5 separate regions of the Homo sapiens genome follow, and regions 1, 3, 4 and 5 are each linked to region 2. Evidence: promoter capture Hi-C in 16 types of primary human blood cells and fetal thymus (Javierre and others, 2016). All regions are on one chromosome and are shown on one strand. Each heading gives the region's core, a stretch centred on a gene start or on the middle of the fragment in contact. The rest is flanking DNA. Distances are from core to core; before and after follow the strand shown.

Region 1 (2,700 bases), core at 169-2,668, 810 kb before region 2:
TGACCACTAAGCACTGTTACTAACGTAACCTCATCCTTCCCTTGTATTCAGATATGCTTTCTTGAGAGGGAGAGTGAATAGGTGGGTATTATAGCCAACAGGTAAGACACAGGCATGGGCAATCAAAGCCATTACAATTTAACCTGTTTATTGGGACAGAAAAAAATGAGAAGTGTTTTTCTAGATGCACTTTTTTCCATGCAGTGTTCTTCTTTTGTTCCCGTGTTCTCTTTGCATGCTTTCAAGAAATCATGGGAAGAAGCTGGTACCTCCTTCAGGCCAAAATAAAACGATGAAGCCCAAGGAGGGAAGTGCTGGAATCATGGCTAAAAATATCAGGTGAGAAGGAAGTGACGGGAGCTCTGAGACATCTTCAACCCATGGAATGTTTGGACAATGTCCTGTGGCCCCAAAGTGCTGTGGATTCCACCAATTTCAATTGGTTCCCACTGGCGAATCCTGGGAAATATCCAGGCTGTGTCCACAGCACTCCCTCCAGTGTTGCTTCTTAGAGAGTGGTACCATCTCAGTCTGCAGGAAGTGGGCACTGCCTTGGGGCATCCAGGTCTTCCTGCTCAGCACTGCACCAGCCTCTCAGGAACTGGGTTAGGGCTCTGGTGGTAAATATGAGCTCTACCCACAGGGTGTTATGAGGCCACCAAGAACTATGCTTCTTAAGAGCCTTTAATGGGGGAAATGAAACTGGCGGGATATTTAATAAATTAAAATGCAGGATATAGAATTTATTATATAATGTGATCTCAGGCATGTAAAAATGTATTGGGACAATCTGGAAGGAAATACAACAAAATAGAAATATTTTTTTTCTTTCTGATAGGAGTAGGAACTTGAGTTATCTTCTTCTTTATAGTTTACTATATTTCTCAACTTTTCTACAATAAGCATGTATTAAAAAAAAAAAAAAACTTATTCTGGCCGGGCTTGGTGGCTCACGCCTGTAATTCCAGCACTTTGGGATGCCAAGGCGGGTGGATCACCTGAGGTCAGGAGTTCAAGACCAGCCTGGCCAAGATGGTGAAACCCCGCCTCTACTAAAAATACAAAAATTAGCCGGGCGTGGTGGTGGTGGGTGCCTGTAATCTGAGTTACTCAGGAGGCTGAGGCAGGAGAGTCACTTGAACCTGGGATGCGGAGGTTGCAGTGAGCAGAGATCGTGCCAGTGCACTCCAGCCTGGGCAACAGAGCAAGACTCCGTCTCAAAAACAAACAAACAAAAAAACACACACAAAAAACCAACTTATTTTTCCCTACAATAAAAAGACGTGAGGGAAGATTTTGGTTATGCTGAAAATAACTACAGTCCTGTCTAATCTATTTCTTAATATCAAGTACAATGAAACAAAACCGTGTGACGGCACCAGTTTATTCACTCTGAGCTAATGCTTTCAGATTATGGGTTTCTTAGAGGGAAACTTCTCCTACTTAAGAGGACATACATCTCATTAGGGGTATTTTAGCAAATCATACTGCACCATGTGGTTTTATGGCATAACTTTAAGAGCAATGACAATGAACTTTAAAAACAAACACAATAATTGGGTCTTGAGTTTAAAGATGACTTTAATTGGAAAAACATAAATTAGTATTTCCCTCAAGGCAGTCACTTAAGGAAACCATTTATCCCCCTATATTGGTGTTGCCATTTCTCAAAATATTTTTGGAACTTTCTGTGGAACTGCTCAGAAAAATCATTCTGTTATTTCAATCACTCCCTATTTTTGACCAAAAATGGTTTTACCAGTTTGAAACATCATTCACCTGACTTGACATCAAATTTTTTTAGGGCTCTTAGGTTTGCCCTAAAAAAAAACCCTATTCTCAAAGGATAAAGATTCCCAACCACTGAGATTCTTTTTTTTAAGTCCTCACACAATGAAAACAATTCTAAACCTGTTCCCAACCATATTTTGAGTAATAATAGCATTCCTGCAATACCTGGCTGATCCCTCAAGATGACTAGTCTGAAGAGGCCAATTTTGGGGATGGGAGAAAAGAAAGGGATCCATTACGGATTCACGAAAAGCCTAGATAAAGGCAATGGAGTTAGGCTAATTTTGTATCCCAGTAAACACTAATAGAAACCTATTAGAAGCCAAAAATTCTCGAGTACAATCGAAAAATGAAAAGCCATCAGTGGTTGCTTTGGTCTTTTGGGGTGGCCAGCAGGGGCAGAATCCCAGGCTGGAGACCCCAGGGGCTCCTTCTTATAGGACAGTGTTTTATACAAGGTAAGACTACGCTACCTTTTCTCTCCATTTGCCTTGTTCATCTTTTGTCAACACTGGCTTCACATTAGAATCACCCAGCGAGCTTTAAAAAAATACCAGTTGACTGGCAACTTCCAGACAATGGAATCTGAATCTCAGAGGGTAAAGTGTAGGTATATATATTTGTGTGTGTGTGTATGTGTGTGTGTGTTTGTGTGTGTGTGTACTGTTTATTCTTCTCTTTTCCCTTCCTTCAAGTTCCCAGGTGAACTGGATGCCCTGAAGTACAGCAAGGGGTGAGAATCGTGGGCAGCTGGTCCAGATGAAGTTCAAGGCTTCCATCTACAGAGCCTATCTCAGTTGATGAAATGAGCTCCTGAGTAACTCACTCATCACCTCACACAATGATTCATAAAAACAAAAATTAGGGACTATTGCTTGGTCTGTACATATAATCTTAGAAAATAATATA
Region 2 (2,700 bases), core at 52-2,551:
GTGTGTGAGAGAAGCCATGTGTGTGATCGTGTAAAATAACGTGTGTGAGAAGCCGTGTGTGATGTGTAATAACACGTGTGTGAGAGAGAAGCTATGTGTGCAATCATGTGTAATAGCATGTGTGTGTGAGAGAAGCCATGAGTCCGATCATGTGTAATAACGAGAAAAGCCCCATGTGTGATCATGTGTAATAGTGTGTGTGAGAGAAAAGCCATGTGTGTGGTCATGTGTAATAATGTGTATGAGAGAGAAGCCGTGTGTGATCGTTGTGTAATAACGTGTGTGAGAGAGAAACCATGTGTGATCATGTGCAATAGCATGTGTGTGTGAGAGAAGCCATGTGTGATCATGTGCAATAGTGTGTGAGAGAGAAGCTGTCATGTGTAATAATGTGTGAGAGAAGCCATGTATGATCATGTGTAATAACGTGAGAGAAGCCATGTGTGACCATGTGTAATAACGTGTGTGAGAGAAGCCATGTGTGTGGTCATGTGTAATAAAATGCATGAGAAGCCATGTGTGATCATGTGTAATAGCATGTGAGAGAGAAGCCATGTATGATCATGTGTAATAACGCATGTGAGAGAAGCCATGTGTGACCATGTGTAATGTGTGTGAGAGAAGCCATGTGTGATCATGTGTAATAGCATGTGTGTGAGAAGCCATGTGTATGATCATGTGTAATAACATGCATGAGAGAAGCCGTGTGTGATCATGTGTAATAGCATGTATGTGAGAAACCATGTGTGATCATGTGTAATGTGTGTGAGAGAAGCCATGTGTGTGATCATGTGTAATAGCATGTGTGTGAGAAGCCGTGTGTGATCATGTGTAATAGCATGTGTGTGTGAGAAGCCAGGTGTGATCACGTTTAATAGCGTGTGTGTGAGAGAAGCCATGTGTGTGATCATGTGTAATAATGTGTGTGTGAGAGAAGCCACGTGTGTGATCATGTGTAATAGCATGTGTGTGTGAGAGAGAAACCATGTGTGTGATCATGTGTAATACTGTCTGAGAGAGCCCATGTGTGTGATCACGTGTAATAACGTGTGTGTGAGAGGGAGAGAAGCCATGTGTGTGATCACGTGTAATTGTGTGTGTGTGTGAGAGAGAGAGAAAGAGAGAGGGAACAGTACAAAGGAGGATCCCTTTAGAAAAGTATTCCAACGTCTTATGGAGCCAGAGGGCTGATTCACAGCTGCTAATCTCTGTCATGCTTTCCAGCACCACCCCCTCCCTCTCATCATAACTTGTGATCTTAGAGGCAGGAAAGAATTTGAGCCCCTCCCCCAGCCTGACCATCTCTGTTGGTTGCTCGGCCAGGCTCCACGTCAAATCCAGTTTGAAACACAGACCCTAGGACCACGCAGGAGGTGGTGGGCTCGCAGGAAGGTTCCTCTCCCAGTGGCCATGGGTAGCAACAGTGGGCAGGCTGGCCGCCACATCTATAAATCCCTAGCTGATGATGGCCCCTTTGACTCTGTGGAGCCGCCTAAAAGACCCACCAGCAGACTCATCATGCACAGCATGGCCATGTTCGGAAGAGAGTTCTGCTACGCGGTGGAGGCAGCGTATGTGACCCCAGTCCTGCTCAGCGTAGGTCTGCCCAGCAGCCTGTACAGCATTGTGTGGTTCCTCAGCCCCATCCTGGGATTCCTGCTGCAGCCCGTGGTCGGATCGGCCAGCGACCACTGCCGGTCCAGGTGGGGCCGCCGGAGACCCTACATCCTCACCCTGGGAGTCATGATGCTCGTGGGCATGGCTCTGTACCTCAATGGGGCTACTGTTGTAGCAGGTAAGTGGGCTGCACAAGGTGGGCAGACAGGGATATGTGTCTTAGTGTGTACCTCTGCAGGAGGAGGATGTTCATGTGTTTGACCTTTCCTAGAAATTTGTTAGAATTGATCTCTCCTAGGTTACAATGAACTTCCCCTTTGACAAATTTGGCCCAGATTCTGTGGTTGGGGAGCCTCTACTTCTAGAAATATCAAAATAAATATGTTTCATTGTTGTGAAGATTTAAAAATAGGATTAAATTTGTATCTATTTTATTAAATTTGTATCTATTTTATCGAATTGAATATTTTTACATATTTATCAATTGAGTTACTTTTTGAGCCCATTATGCTCTATTTAATACTCTTATCAAATTGACTGGCTGCCAAATAGCTCCATAAATATTTACAATAAGTCACCTGTGTATCCAAATAAGTTAATTCTGTTCATAGTTTTATGTAGAGCGTTTTAATAGGCGTAGGGCATAAGCCCATCAGCTCAAGAGGACCTTTCTGGCATTGCAAATTCTGGACAAAAGCAAACCTGAGGGTAGGCATTTTTTCTAGCCATTAATCAGCTACCAATTAATCAGTAATTGATGGTAGTACAATAAAGTTGCATTGCAAAAAGGATCGCTAAAAATAGCACACATTTGTAGATCATTAACTCTCAAGCTAGCAGAATCGGTGATTATGAGGCAGGATAATCAATTATCATTTGTACATATTTGAAAGAAAGCGTAAATGTACAAATGTAGGATATTTCCAGGAGAATGAACAAAAAGCTGATAAGCATTGTTGACTCTAAGGAGGATTACTGAAGGACAGGAGGTGAGAAGTGGCGGGTAGACTTATTGTTCATTTAATTTTATACTGCAATTTTTAAAACGTGTATATAATCTATGCTATTCTTAAGTTTAAAAAG
Region 3 (2,700 bases), core at 143-2,642, 540 kb before region 2:
TCAAGAAAAGCTGCCTTTTATAATAATTCCAGACTCCCTTGCCTCAACTCTCCCACTATCCAGAGACAAGACAGACCTTGTGGGAAGCAAGGCTGTGGCCCAATCTTGACCTCCTTGACACCGGGCTGCCTTTTCTAGTTTCCCAATTCTTAATTGCCCCTGGCCAATTTCACATCCAAGAATGAAAAATGACTCCAGTCTACTGGTGGTTGAACACGCTGATGGCTGCAGGTGCTTCCTTTGCACAACAGCCAGGCCAATTAAAGGGCAAGATGTGACCCAGACAGTCACCCTTGAAGCTCTCTACCGTTTACAATGTTCTGAAAGAATGCTGGTGGGTGCCCCAACAGTCACCTGTGTGCTTCCTTAGCACCCTGCCAGCCCTGCTGATGCTGTTGCAATAGCCTATCATTGTTTAGCATATGTCAGGTGCACTTACAGAGGGTGCCTTATCTGAAAGGCCCTGAGCATATGCAGTTGGCCCTCAGTATCTGTGGATTCCATGACTGGATCCAATTAGCCATGGATAAAAAGTATTTGGAAACAAATTGCATTTGTACTAAACATGTACAGACTTTTTTCCTCATCATTATTTCCTAAATAACACAGTGTAACAATTATTTACATAGCATTTATATTAGCAATCTAGAGATCTTAAGTAATCTAGAGATGACATAAAGTATACAGGAGGTTGTGCATAGGTTATATGCAAATACTGCACCATTTTGTATCAAGGACTTGCGCATCTGTGGATTTTGGTGTCTGAGGGAGGTCCTAGAACCAATCTCCCATGCACACCAAAGGACGACTGTATTTGTAAAACCTAAATTCTCATTAAGAAGCTGAAGTTAATAAGTAAAAACCAACCAACCAACCAACCAACCAACCAACCAAACTAGTGAGAGGGGGTAAAAGTTTCCATTAGGATGACTAGATTTAACAAAAAAATACAGACAGGAAACTCAGTTAAATTTGAATTTCAGATAAACAACAAATGTTTTTTGATGTACATGAATTCTGTGCAATATTTGGGACATACTCATACTAAAAATTATTTGTTATGTACCTGTATCTGAAATTCAAATGTACCTGAGTGTCCTATTATTGATTCAACCACCCTAGTTCCTGTGGAATTCCATGGTCAGGATATCCGATGAAACAAACCTTGACTCTTGACTGTTGGAACTAAATCTGGGAATCTGGTACTCTTCCAGTTCTGACATTGGCAGGTCTTCTTGATTGTTGCTGTTCCCAAATGAGGGACCAAGTTCTTCGGGGAGTTCCACAGGAAGGCTCGGGCATGACCCGGCTCCTGGGAACTCCCTATAACAGGAGGTGCACAGCCAGTTCACGGAAAATGCAACTGTCACAGTGAAGTCAGCATGTTTTTATATATGCAGTCTAATCACAAAGTGCTTTCGGATAACCTTCTCATTTGATTCCTCAACAGCCCTGAATAGGGCTTAGCAAATATCTTCTCTGCTTCAGATGAGAAAACACTGAGGTGATGTTGGCCAAGTCAGTGCCAATTAAGCAGTGAGTTAAGGGTCACCTGAGCTGTCAGGCCCTAAGACCAATTTTACCTTGCTTTTTTGTTAGAACAGACTACTTTGTTACTAAAGTCAAATACACTTTTCCAAAACCATTACATTATGGGTTTTTTCTATTTATAAAAGTAATATTTGATTATTGCAGAAAACATGAAAATCACAGACAAAAAAAGAATAGAAGAGAAATCAGCAAAGGAAGTAATTCTACCCTTGTGAGATAACTACTGCTAACATGGAGGTGTATGGCCTTCCATTCTCTGTCCTTCTTATATATATTAATATATGATCAGTTTTAAATAAGAAAGGCCAAGTCCTCTTACACACATGCATGCATATATGAATGATAAAAATATAAATGTATGAATAGTTGTATACGTGAAGCTCATCATATGCATATGTGCACAAACATGTCTATACGTAATATGAACTTATATTATTTTGAAATTAGATTATTTATTTTTGGCATTAATCAGATCTTAAGACTGAGCACAAAAATGAGGTGAAAATCACCAAATAAACTCTGGATAAAGAGTGTAGGCAATGGCCGGGTGGTGTGGCTCACGCCTGTAATCCCAGCACTTTGGGAGGCTGAGGCGGGCAGGTCTCTTGAGCCCAGGAGTTTGAGACCAGCCTGGGCAACAAGGCAAAATCATCTCTACAAAAAAATAGAAAAATCAGCCAGGTAGGTGCCTGTAGTCCTAGCTACTTTGGAGGCTGAGATGAGAGGATCACCTGAGCCGGGGGAGGTCTTAGCTGCAGTGAGCCATGATTGTGCCACTTTACTCCAGCCTGGGCGACAGAGCGAGACTCCGTCTCATAAAAAAATAAAAAATAAAAAAATAAAAATAAAAAGAGTGTGGGCAGTGAAGGACATGAGAACAATGTCTCACCACAGTGATGAGTGAGCCTATCCTTCACATTGAATCTGTTCCTAATTAAAAATGAGTGTTTGGTGGGTAAAGAGGGTAAAGCTAAAAAGATCTGTCCCTAATGCTTTCCCACTGAACTATTGACTTACCCTGACTACTACCTTGTCAACAATTTATCTCCCCTTTGGACATAAACATTGATAATCCAGAACTGATGTTGCTGTGACTCCAGTAGCACTTGGTACTCAGCTGTAATATGTCTGTGATCAATGTTTTCATCG
Region 4 (2,700 bases), core at 95-2,594, 670 kb before region 2:
CATCCCAGGCAGCTGGGCATTCTCCTCTCCCGGAAGGAAGACGGAATCCCACCCCGATCATGCGTGAGCTGCGGCGAAGAGAAGCCGCTGGTCCCGAGGCGAGGGGCCTCGAGTCCGCAGATTCCCCTCAACATTTCTGGGAGTAAAGTTGGGCTTAGCTGGGCTCCTGGCAAATAAAGAGGAGCCTGGAAAGACAGCCATGCTCAGGCCCCCGTGAGGCCACTTCGGACCCCTCCACGCTGTGCTGGGCTGCATCTGCCTTAATTCCCCGTCTGTTGCTTCTCCAGGCTCTGAGCCCCCTCCACAAAAGGGGGATGCGAAACTCAAAGGAGTTAGGATGTCAACCCTGCAAACCGCAGAAACTAAACCGACACCAACCTGCCCAAGAAGGCAGCGAAGGTGGTTGAGGACGACACCCCACCCCCCACCCCCCACCAGGCAGGGGTCGCGGGAGATGGCGGGCGCCTTTCTGGTGGCTCCACGTCCTCCTTACTCCCGAAGTCCCGGCGGCCCCGAGTCTGCCCCAACTCCAGCATCCGTTCTCCCCGAGCTGCGGCGGGGAAAACAAGGTAGGGGGCAGGGGCAGGCCCAGAGGGGTCTCGCCCCCGCCCTTGGGCCGGCCGAGGGGCTCCCTGGAGTCAGAGGAGGAACAATAGCGGACCCCGCGTCCTGGGAGCCACCCGGAGTCTCCCGCTCGCACCTCCCTCCCCACCTCCTCCAAGTTCAGCCGGGAGGCGGATTGGGCTCAGCAGCACCGACGCGGGGGCAGCGAGGCGCCGCGCGGGGCGAAACAGGTGGGACCCGGCGCAGACTCCAGGGTGCATCTCCGGGTCTGCTCATTCATTCCCACCCGCGCTCCCTCCGCCGCGGCCCCTGCCCCGCGCCCCGCCCCAGCCGGCCTGCGAGTCGCGGAGGACCCGGGAAGAACCCTTCTCCTAACTTGGCCGGGTCTTCCCGCTCTACCCTCATCTCCACCTTCCTCTCCTTCCTCTTGTCCCCAGATCTGCTCTCCGCAGACAGTGGGCTGCCGGCGGTGGACCAGGGAGAGGTGGCGGGACCCCGGCTGCAGCCCGCTCAGCCGCTCCGCCCGGGCGCCGTCCCCAGCGCCTCCCGCGCCCGAGCTCCAGACACAAAGGCGGGGACACGAGCCCGGGACCCCGCGCCGGGAGCCTCCCAACTCCGTGCCGCGCACTCACCCCATCGAGGCGGCGGCGGCGCTCCCCGGACCCAGCTGGCTGCTCCACCCCGCCCGCCGCTTCCCCAGGAAAACGCGGCCGCCGGGCTCGCTTCCTGCTCGGCTTCCTGCGCCGCAGTCCCTCCTCCTCCCCCGCTGCGGGGGTCAGTGGGCGCCGAGCTCCCGGGCTAGGCCGGCGGGGCGGGGGCAGCGGCAGCACCACCACGTGGCCGCCGGGCGCCGGCCCCCGCCGACCTGGATCCAGTGGGAGCGGGAAGGGAGGCGCTAACCATTCCCCTCCCATTCCACCCCTCGCGGCCCCAAATTCCGCGAGTCAGGTGACCCGGCCCCGGGCTCTGGCCGGGACCTGCGGGGGGTGCTCTCCGCCCTCCAGCCCCCGGCGCATCTCCCCGGCCCGCGCGTCCCGGCTGTTCGTGGCTTGCTTTTAGTCTCCAGGGATCGTGGGACCCTTCTCCGCGGATCTGTTTCATCCTCTTAACCTGAAGTTAGTGGAAGCCCCCCACGCTCTGACCCCTGGGTTTAGGACGGATGAGATCCCAGATACTGTTTATTTCTGATTAACTTCCAAAGTCGTTTGTGGTAGTGGCGAGTGTTTCAAAGTCACGGATCCAAGCCCCTTCTGACCAGAATCTAAAAGGTTGTTTTCCAAAATCATTGAACAGAAAGTAAAGTAGAATGTGCTCACGTTCTCCGGACTGAACCAATTGGTTGAAGTGACTGTTTTCTAGCACTCATTGGGTGGCAAGGCAAGACTACCACCGTTCAGTGTTGTTCTGCTCAGGAGTTAGAAAGGAGAAACCTACAGCCTGAACTGACAGGCGAGATTGCGCATGGGAACGCCTTCAAAATAGTGTGTGAGAAGCCACGGGGTACAGGCTCACTGCCCCAGGTCCCCGACAGCTTCTCTCCCTATCCCAGCCCACTAAGGCCCGACCTTTCAATTACGATGGACTCCACCATTAATTCCAAGGATTTCAAAGCTCTCTATCTACCCACTCATCTAATTTGGGCTGGCTTTTCCATGCATTCTAGTCATGCTAACCAGCTGTGACTTCAGTTCTGTTCACCTAAGCTCCTCCCTTCTCCTCGTTAGCTCTGCCTCCTTTGCTCAGGGAAGAAAGCTTTCTAGAATAAATAACGTATTGAGTTCTTTCTGGGATCTACTGTAAGTCAATTGAACTTAAGAGGGAAAAAAGGTCGATTCCAACAAAATTGAAATTCACCCTAACAGCTCAGTTTATAACGTGTCAGCTACATACTAATATTTATATGGCAGATATTACCTGTTCCCTCCCCCCGCCCCATCCCCCTTTCCTTCCTCCCTCTCCCTACTAGGGAAGAGCCTATCTCCCCTTTAACAGTTGAACTTGACAAACAAGCATCAAAAGCCTTGTAACTAGGTGCAGGGTCTTCACTTCCTACAGCAAAAGTTCCTTAGCCAAGTGAGGAACAGCTAAAGCAAGATGTACACTCCTCTTCCTGTCCTTTATCCCTCTCAAACAAAG
Region 5 (2,700 bases), core at 131-2,630, 700 kb after region 2:
CTGCCACCATTCACGTTTTATTATTTATTATTAATTGTCTCACTTTAGAGGAAAACTCCAAAGATGGTCAAATACAGTGACTTTTCATTGATTTCTCAGAAAACTGCTAAGTCGGCAGAATAAAGTAAGATATGTCACTAATTTTTATTATTTAGAGATGTTTTGCTTACTTTTTGAACATAGAAATTTAGTGTTTGCTGAAAGCAAACTGGTTCACATTTTTTTTGCAGGGATAAATAATAGGAAGGCTGGTTTTTGGCAAAATTATGAGATAGCAATGTTGATTTTTGGTGATTTCTCACACCTTCCTTCAGCATATACCTTTCTTTCATTTTTCAGATTCTTCAGTTCTTCAACTCTTGAGTTGCTACAATAATCCACCTACCCCCGAACCCCAACCTCCTTAACTTCACCTTGTCTCTGACATCTCAATTTTAAGGGGAATTCCTAAAGAATCCAAAACCTTCAAGATGCAAAAGAATGCAAGATACAAAGGAGTAGTGACAGGCAATGAGAAATGTTCTTTTGGAATAAAAAGTTACTTCCTGAAATATAGATAGGTAGCTAATGCTACTTATTTTTTCTTCCATGGTCAGGTCTGGGGCACTGGGAAGAATGAGTAAAGGGCAGCGTAGTTCCTGTGTGCTGGACCAGTGTTTATTATGTAGGCCAAGTAGTATTTTGTAAGCCAAATGACCTTCTTAGACTGAGTTCCAAGACTAGGCTATTTAGATCAGATCCACGTGATATAAATATTGCATATCATATGAAACTGAAGACAGTGACCAGATACTGACCTCCCAGGTTGTGGCGCCGAAAGATTAATGAATGGATGAAGTTTGGGTTTCTGACAGCATTTTGGCTTTTAGAAAAAGTTGTGAGCAATGGTAGTGACAAGCAAGTAAAGGACTGTTGTATCTAAGTCTAAATAAACAAAAAGATAGGAGCAGACTGAATATAAATAGATGAAGGTTTTTCTTCTTAGCGCCAAGATAAAGCACATAGCAAAGCAGAATCTTTATTTATGATGATTATAGAGTCGAGTTTGAGTTCATTGCTCTTGAGAAGAATAAGCAAATCTGTGTATTTTTAAACATCTTCCATGCTAAATTTTATTTTTAATGAAATCATGTGCATCAGTTTAAAGAGAAACAATATTCTTGAATCCATATAACTTCAATTATTGGCATGAAGAATGTGGTTTAACAAGACACTATCCTACAGTTTTCTTACGGAGTCAGTTTCTTCTTCAAAAAGCAAAACCATTCTTAACTCTATAAGAAAATGATAAGCTATTGTATTTCCCATTCCAAGGAAAGTTATTCCAGCACAGCAAGCTGCAGCCATCATGATAAATCTTAGAGCCAGTCACCAGAGTGTTTCTATATTGCTCATGAAGCCTTAGCATATTTTATATCCTACACAGTGTAGTGGAGAAAATTAAGCCTTGCAACAGCTAGGGACTTATGCCAGGGTAATTTCCTTAAATAAATTTATTTGTTTTATTTAATTTATTATAAAAGTCATTAATACATAGCTTATAGAATTTCTGCCATAAAAACGCCTGAGGAGATGCTCAGTCAATTTTTTTTTTTTAAATCTAGAGGTCTAGAGATCGGTCAAAGGTCACGTCATGAGTTGGTCCCAGAGCTGACTCCCAGTCCACTGCTCCTGCTACTTTTCCAGTCACCCTCCTGAGATGGCCCGCTTGTCTGTATGCACATACAGAAAGAAGTACTGGGAAAAGTAGGAAATAATACTTAAAGCCCTTCCATTTGTATTTCCAGAGCCTGTCAGAGAGAATTTGGCAACCCAAGTAAAGTCTTTAGAGACATCAGAGTATTTATTCTTCACTCCGGTGACCAAATTTAGACCTGTCTGAGATTTTTTTTTTTTTTAATTATACTTTAAGTTTTAGGTACATGTGCACAATGTGCAGGTTAGTTACATAAGTATACATGTGCCATGCTGGTGTGCTGCACCTATTAACTCGTCATTTAGCATTAGGTATATCTCCTAATGCTATCCCTCCCCCCTCCCCCCACCCCACAACAGTCCCCAGAGTGTGATGTTCCCCTTCCTGTGTCCTTGTGTTCTCATTGTTCAGTTCCCACCTATGAGTGAGAACATGCAGTGTTTGGTTTTTGTCCCTGCGATAGTTTACTGAGAATGATGATTTCCAATTTCATCCATGTCCCTACAAAGGACATGAACTCATCATTTTTTATGGCTGCATAGTATTCCATAGTGTATATGTGCCACATTTTCTTAATCCAGTCTATCATTGTTGGACATTTGGGTTGGTTCCAAGTCTTTGCTATTGTGAATAGTACCGCAGTAAACATATGTGTGCATGTGTCTTTATAGCAGCATGATTTATATTCCTTTGGGTATATACCCAGTAATGGGATGGCTGGGTCAAATGGTATTTCTAGTTCTAGATCCCTGAGGAATCGCCACACTGACTTCCACAATGGTTGAACTAGTTTACAGTCCCACCAACAGTGTAAAAGTGTTCCTGTTTCTCCACATCCTCTCCAGCACCTGTTGTTTCCTGACTTTTTAATGATCGCCATTCTAACTGGTGTGAGATGGTATCTCATTGTGGTTTTGATTTGCATTTCTCTGATGGCCAGTGATGATGAGCATTTTTTCACGTGTTTTTCGGCTGCATAAATGTCTTCTTTTGAGAAGTGTCTG

The links. Contacts are between HindIII fragments. The CHiCAGO score rates a contact against its expected background, and 5 or more counts as called.
Region 1: a fragment that was not itself captured here is called in contact with the fragment with the promoter of SLC45A2 in region 2 in 8 of 17 cell types (M2 macrophages, naive CD8 T cells, naive CD4 T cells and 5 more); the score reaches 10.8 in M2 macrophages.
Region 3: a contact is called between a fragment that was not itself captured here and the fragment with the promoter of SLC45A2 in region 2, in 5 of 17 cell types (total CD8 T cells, total CD4 T cells, non-activated CD4 T cells and 2 more). The highest score is 7.5, in total CD8 T cells.
Region 4: a contact is called between the fragment with the promoter of RAI14 here and the fragment with the promoter of SLC45A2 in region 2, in 4 of 17 cell types (naive CD8 T cells, activated CD4 T cells, monocytes and 1 more). The highest score is 8.3, in naive CD8 T cells.
Region 5: a contact is called between a fragment that was not itself captured here and the fragment with the promoter of SLC45A2 in region 2, in 1 of 17 cell types (monocytes). The highest score is 11.9, in monocytes.

Annotation. Positions count from the first base shown.
Region 1 is chr5:34,796,573-34,799,272 of GRCh38, reverse strand. The region is part of intron 4 of RAI14 (retinoic acid induced 14); the gene reads right to left. Among named protein-coding and RNA genes, the nearest start is that of TTC23L, 41 kb to the left of the region's middle. The HindIII fragment of the contact is 9,604 bases long and covers 1-2,700 here.
Region 2 is chr5:33,983,294-33,985,993 of GRCh38, reverse strand. SLC45A2 (solute carrier family 45 member 2) reads left to right here and starts at 1,301. Exons shown (of 7, transcript NM_016180.5): 1 at 1,301-1,795. The coding sequence starts at 1,411. The HindIII fragment of the contact is 8,753 bases long and covers 1-2,700 here.
Region 3 is chr5:34,524,556-34,527,255 of GRCh38, reverse strand. It overlaps LOC124900958 (a long non-coding RNA gene), which reads right to left and starts at 1,300. Exons shown (of 3, transcript XR_007058727.1): 1 at 1,165-1,300. RefSeq lists enhancers at 1-194, 195-695. The HindIII fragment of the contact is 3,528 bases long and covers 1-2,700 here.
Region 4 is chr5:34,654,972-34,657,671 of GRCh38, reverse strand. It overlaps RAI14 (retinoic acid induced 14), which reads right to left and starts at 1,344. Exons shown (of 18, transcript NM_015577.3): 1 at 1,197-1,344. It overlaps RAI14-DT (RAI14 divergent transcript), which reads left to right and starts at 1,499. Exons shown (of 3, transcript NR_183264.1): 1 at 1,499-1,679. RefSeq lists a silencer at 1,337-1,386. The HindIII fragment of the contact is 8,769 bases long and covers 1-2,318 here.
Region 5 is chr5:33,279,764-33,282,463 of GRCh38, reverse strand. The region is part of intron 1 of LOC124900637 (a long non-coding RNA gene); the gene reads left to right. Among named protein-coding and RNA genes, the nearest start is that of LINC02160, 51 kb to the right of the region's middle. The HindIII fragment of the contact is 7,284 bases long and covers 1-2,700 here.